2 separate regions of the Homo sapiens genome follow, and region 1 is linked to region 2. The links are contacts of gene promoters, found by promoter capture Hi-C in blood cells and fetal thymus (Javierre and others, 2016). All regions are on one chromosome and are shown on one strand. The core of a region is centred on a gene start or on the middle of the fragment in contact, and the rest is flanking DNA. Distances in the headings are between cores, read along the strand shown.

What was found. The method cuts DNA at HindIII sites, captures the fragments that hold promoters and counts their contacts. A CHiCAGO score of 5 or more calls a contact.
Region 1: a fragment that was not itself captured here is called in contact with the fragment with the promoter of CYP17A1 in region 2 in 2 of 17 cell types (M1 macrophages and M0 macrophages); the score reaches 5.7 in M1 macrophages.

What each region holds. Positions count from the first base shown.
Region 1 is chr10:102,748,978-102,752,030 of GRCh38, forward strand. All of the region lies in intron 1 of WBP1L (WW domain binding protein 1 like), which reads left to right. Among named protein-coding and RNA genes, the nearest start is that of WBP1L, 6.6 kb to the left of the region's middle. The HindIII fragment of the contact is 3,402 bases long and covers 13-3,053 here.
Region 2 is chr10:102,836,131-102,839,130 of GRCh38, forward strand. CYP17A1 (cytochrome P450 family 17 subfamily A member 1) reads right to left here and starts at 1,283. Exons shown (of 8, transcript NM_000102.4): 1 at 935-1,283. The coding sequence starts at 1,231. RefSeq lists a promoter at 1,243-1,522. The HindIII fragment of the contact is 11,808 bases long and covers 1-3,000 here.

The sequences.
Region 1 (3,053 bases), core at 464-2,963, 87 kb before region 2:
CTCTGTGGCAGAAGCTTTGTGTGTGGATGTGTAGAGGAGTGTGGAAGTGGGGGAGGCTCGAAAGAGAGGCTGTTGTCACATGGTCAGGAGGCCTTTCATCCATTCATCTAAGGCTGCACCATCCAGTAGAACCTTCTGTGATGCTGGAAATGATCTCTCTCTGTGCCGTCCAATTCAGTAGCCACTTAGCCAGGTGGCTGCTGAGCATTTGAAATGTGGCTAGGATAACTGAGGAACTGAATTTTGAAACATATTTAATTTTGAAACATATTTGTTTATTTACATATTTTTATTTTTTAGAGACAGAATCTTGCTCTGTTGCCCATAGGGTTTCTGTCGCTGGAATGCAGTGGTGTAGTCGTAGCTCACTGCAGCTTTGAACTCCTGGGCTCAAGCGATCCTTCTGCCTCAGCCTCCCAAGGAGCTAGGATTGTTGGTGCATGCCACCACACCTGGCCCTATATTTAATTTTTTTTCTTTTTTTTTTCTCTCTAATAAAAAAAATTTTTTTTTAAGTAGAGATGAGTGTCTCACCATGTTGCCCAGGTGGGTCTAGAACTCCTTGGGCTCAAGTGATCCTTCCACCTTGGCCTCCCAAAGTGTTTGGATTACAGGCGTGAGCCACCATGCCTGGCCTAATTTTTTTTAATTAAAAAAATTTTTTTATAGAGCAGAAGTCTCACTATATTGCCCAGTCTGGTCTTGAACTCCTTGGCTCAAGTGATTTTCCTGCCTCAGCCTCCCAAAGTGCTGGGATTGCAGGCGTGAGCCACTGTTCCTGGCCCTCCATATTTATTTATTTATTTATTTATTTTTTGAGATGGAGTTTCATTCTTGTTGCCCAGGCTGGAGTGCAATGGTGCAGTCTTGGCTCACTGCCACCTCTGACTCCCGGGTTCAAGGGATTCTCATGCCTCAGCCTCCCAAATAGCTGGGATTACAAGCACTGCCACCATGCCTGGGTAATTTTTTTTGTATTTTTTTTGTAGATACGGGGTTTCACCATGTTGGCCAGGCTGGTCTCGAACTCCTGACCTCAGATGATCTGCCCGCCTTGGCCTCTCAAAGTGTTGGGATTACAGGCGTTAGCGACCACGCCTGGCTGCCCATATTTAATTTTTTATATCAACTTTATTGAGATATAATCAGGTCAGGCGCAGTGGTTCACACCTGTAATCCCAGCACTTTGGGAGGCTGAGGCGGGTGGATCATTTGAGGTCAGGAGTTCTAGACCAGCGTGGCCAACATGGTGAAACCTCATCTCTACCAAAAATAGAAAAATTAGCGTGCACCTGTAATCCCAGCTACTCAGGAGGCTGAGGCAGGAGAATCGCTTGAGCCCCATAGGCAGAGGCTGCAGCGAGCCTAGATCACGCCACTGCACTCCAGTCTGGGCGATAGAGTGAGACCCTGTCTCAAAAAAAGAAAAAAAAACTTTATTGAGGTAATTTACATGCCAAAAAAATTCACCCTTTTAAAGTATACATAAATTGGTGTTTCAGTATAGTCACAGAATTTGTGACTATCAGTGCTAATTTTAGCATATTTTCTTTTTTTTTTTCTTTTGAAACGGTGTCTTGCTCCGTCGCCCAGGTTGGAGTGCAAACTCCGCCTCCAGAGTTCAAGCGCTTCTCCTGCCTCAGCCTCCTGAGTAGCTGGGACTACAGGTGCCCACCACCACACCTGGCTAATTTTTTGTATTTTTAGTACAGATGGGGTTTCACTGTGTTAGCCAGGATGGTCTCGATCTCCTGACCTTGTGATCCGCCCGCCTCAGCCTCCCAAAGTTCTAGAATTACAGGTGTGAGCCACCACGCCCGGCCCAATTTTAGCATATTTTCTTTACCCCAGAAAGAAACCCCATAGCCATTAGCAGTCACTTCCCTTTCTAGCCCCTTTTCTTCCATCCCTTAGTGACCACTGATCTACTTGCCATTCCTATGGATTTGCCTGTTCTAGACATTTCATATAAAGTGAATGGTACACTATGTGGTCTTTTGTGGCTTATTTCACTTACCATAAGGTTTTCCTTTCTTTTTTTGAGACAGAGTCTCACTCTGTCACCCAGGCTGGAGTGCAGTGGTGTGATCTTGGCTCACTGCAACCTCTGCCTCCTGGGTTCAAGTGATTCTCCTGTCTCAGCCTCCTGAGTAGCTGGGACTACAGGTATGCACCACCATGCCTAGCTAACTTTTGTATTTTTTAGTAGAGATGGGGTTTTGCCATGTTGGCCAGGCTGTTCTCGAACTCCTGACCTCAGGCGATCTGCCCGACTTGGCCTCCCAAAGTGCTGAGATTACAGGTGTGTGCCACTGCGCCCAATCAAGGTTTTCTTTTTTCTTTCCTTTTTTTTTTTTTGAGACACGATCTCCCTCTGTTGCCCAGGCTGAAGTGCAGTGGTGCAATCTCAGCTCACTGCAATCTCCACCTCAAGCAAACCTCCTATCTCAGCCCTCCTAGTAGCTGGAGCTACAGGTGCGCACCCACACCCAGTTAATTTTTGTATTTTTTGTAGAGATGGAGTTTCACCACGTTGGCCAGGCTGGTCTTGAACTCCTGGGCACAAGCGATCTGCTCGCCTTGGCCTCTCAAAGTGTTGGGATTACAGGTGTGAGCCACCACACCTGGCCAATGTGATATTTACTTAAAATAATTTAAACTAAATAGCTGTATGTAGATAGTGACTACATATTGGAGGATACTGATCTAACAACTTTCCAGAGTAGGGATTTGGTACAGTCAAACCTAGTGGTCATGTCATGAGCTCTGGGGTCAGACCACCTGAGTTCCAAATTTGATACTGTCCTTGAGCAAGTTACATAACCTCTTTGTGCCTCAGCTTCCTCATCTATAAAATGGGAATTGTACTAGTATGGGGTTGTCATGAGGTGAAAAGACATAATATATGTAAAGCTCTTGGAATATATTCAATGATTAATAAGTATAATAATAATTATCACCATTATTGCTGTTGGCAGTCCTCAGAGTGTATTATGGTTTGTAAGTTAGTGTCAACTCCCAGACTAACTTCAGGAACTGAGATCTGGAGATTT
Region 2 (3,000 bases), core at 33-2,532:
CAAGAAAAAATAAACCAACCCTTGGCTTGATCAAAGCTGAGAGGCTGGCAGGGCACAGTGGCTTACGCCTATAATCCTAGCACTTTGGGAGGCTAAGGTGGGAGGATCACGAGGTCAGGAGATCGAGACCATCCTGGCTAACATGGTGAAACACCATCTCTACTAAAAATACAAAAAATTAGCGGGCATGGTGGCATGCTCCTGTAGTCCCAGGTACTCAGGAGGCTGAGGCAGGAGAATCACTTGAACCCGGGAGGCAGAGGTTGCAGTGAGCTGAGATTGGCCACTGCACTCCAGGCTGGGCGACAGAGAGAGACTCTGTCTCAAAAAAAAAAAAAAAAAAAAAAAATGCTGAGAGGCTGGGGGCCCTGCTGAGTGGGAGGCTCATCAGCAACCCTGAAATGTCATTGTAGAAAACTGCCCCTGTGAGCCTGAGTAGCTGGAAATAGCACCAGGAAAGCAGCAATCCCAGCCTGCAATAGCTAGGCTAATTCTCCCCAGCAGCTTTCATGGAGGACAGTAGTCACTGCCCCCATTTTCCATGAAAAGTAACATGAATCCTGGCTGTATAAGGGGCACTTACTGTGCTGGGTGCTAGGCTAAGTGCTGTACATGCACCTTCTCAGTCCATTAGAGAAGTCTAGGCTCAGAGAGAGGAGTGGAGTGAGGATTCCTTGACCCCTCAGACCACTGTGGTCCTCCCATCCCACCTCCTGGGCAGCCTGGTAGAGGAGACATTCCTTTAATTCTTCCTGCCTAATTTAGAGGCTGGGTGGGGGTCTGAAGGTTCACTCCCTTCACATCATCCCACTAGTCTACTTTGGGAAGAATTACAGGTTGTTGGAGCTGGAAGCCCCATTCTAGGCATGGTCTGAAGACCTGAACAATCCCAGGGGGTGGTGAAGGGGGCAGGGAGGAGATGGGCACCACTTACCATTTGAGGCCGCCCAGAGAAGTCCTTGCCCTTCTTAATAAGCACCTCCTTGGCCAGCTGGTGGTGGCCGACAATCACTGTAGTCTTGGTGCCCATACGAACCGAATAGATGGGGCCATATTTTTTCTGCAGCTTGAAGAAGTTGTTATGCATATGGCCGTGTCTGGGGAGGAATGGCAGGCTGCCCACCAGGGGCAGGGACAGGAGGCTCTTGGGGTACTTGGCACCAGGGCACCTTCTCTTGGGCCAAAACAAATAAGCTAGGGTAAGCAGCAAGAGAGCCACGAGCTCCCACATGGTGGCTGGGTGCCGGCAGGCAAGATAGACAGCAGTGGAGTAGAAGAGCTGTGGCAACTCTAGGGCACAAGGAGGCCTTTTAAAGGGCTACCCTGATCTTCACCTTGACTTTGTGTTATCTCTTGCCTTGTGGAAAGATTCTCCTGGAGCCCAGCCAGGCCTGAGCTCATATCCAGAAGGGAGAGAGGCGGTGGGAGTGAAGGCCTCCTCAAGGGCTGGCTCAACTCCAGGGCAAACCTCCGGAGGAGGAGCTAGGTAAGGGAGGTCAGTTGATCACCCTCTGAGGAGCTCCCCATGCTTGAATGACTCCAGAGTGCGAATGGTATCTGGGCTCAGGAGTCAAGGCTTGGAACTTTCCATGTTGCAAAATCAAAATCACTGGACAGATGACAGATTCAGGAGGGTCACAAGTAGCAGGGACTGTTAAAGGTCTTTTATGCTTCTTTTTTTTTTTTTCAGAGTCTTGCTCCATCACCAGGCTGGTGTGCAGTGGTGTGACTGTCCATGCAGCCCTGGCCCTCCAGCCCATGTGGTTTTGGCAGCGATAAGGGCTGTGGGTTAATGGTCCCCAAAATAAAAATGTACATGTGTATGGGAACGAAAGGGGTGCTAAGCTGTGGGGAGCGGTGGAAGGGAAGGGAGAGATAGGTCAGTACTAGGAATGCCAGAGGTGGGAGGCCGTTTCATAACATTTCTTGTTGATCAAAATGCCATCAACACCTTCTTTGCTCATCAGCAGGACTAGCGTACTGGGGGAACCCACCCCCAATATTTCAACGTAGGTTCTTTCTATAAGTGTCAGCCGGCTGAGAAATAAAGAGAGACAGTATAAAGAGAGGAATTTTACAGCTGGGCCGCCGGGGGTGGCATCACATATCGGTAGGACTGTGATACCCACCTGAGCCTCAAACCAGCAAGTTTTTATTAAGGGTTTCAAAAAGGGGAGGGGGTGTAAGAACAGGGAGTAGGTACAAAGATCACATGCTTCAAAGGGCGAAAAGCAGAACTACTAATAAGTGTCTAACAAAGATCACATGCTTCTGAGGGAAAGGACAAAGGGCAAAAGCAGAACTACCGATAAGGGTCCAACAAAGATCACAAGGCAAAGGGCAAAAGCAGAACCACTGATAAGGGTCCAACAAAGATCACAAGGCAAAGGGCAAAAGCAGAACTACAGATGAGGGTCTATGTTCAGCGGTGCACATACTGTCTTGATAAACACCTTAAACAACAGCAAACAGGGTTCGACAGCAGAGAACCGGTCTGACCACAAATTTACCAGGGCGGAGTTTTTCCCCACCCTAGTAAGCCTGAGGGTACTGCAGGAGACCAGGGCGTATCTCAGTCCTTATCTCAACTGCACAAGATAGACATTCCCAGAGCGGCTGTTTATAGACCTCCCCCCAGGAATGCATTCCTTTCCCAGGGTATTAATAATAATACTCCTTGCTAGGAAAAGAATTTAGTGATATCTTCCCTACTTGCATGTCCATTTATAGCCTCTCTCAAGAAGGAAAATATGGCTCTTTCTGCCCGACCCTGCAGGCAGTCAGACCTTATGGTTGTTTTCCCTTGTTCCCTAAAAATTGCTCTTATTCTGTTCTTTTTCAAGGTGCACTAATTTCATATTGTTCAAACACATGTCTTACAATCAATTTGTACAGTTAACACAATTATCACAGTGGTCCTGAAGTGACAAACATCCTCAGCTTACAAAGATAACAGGATTAAGAGATTAAAGTAAAGACAGGCATAAGAAATTATAAAAG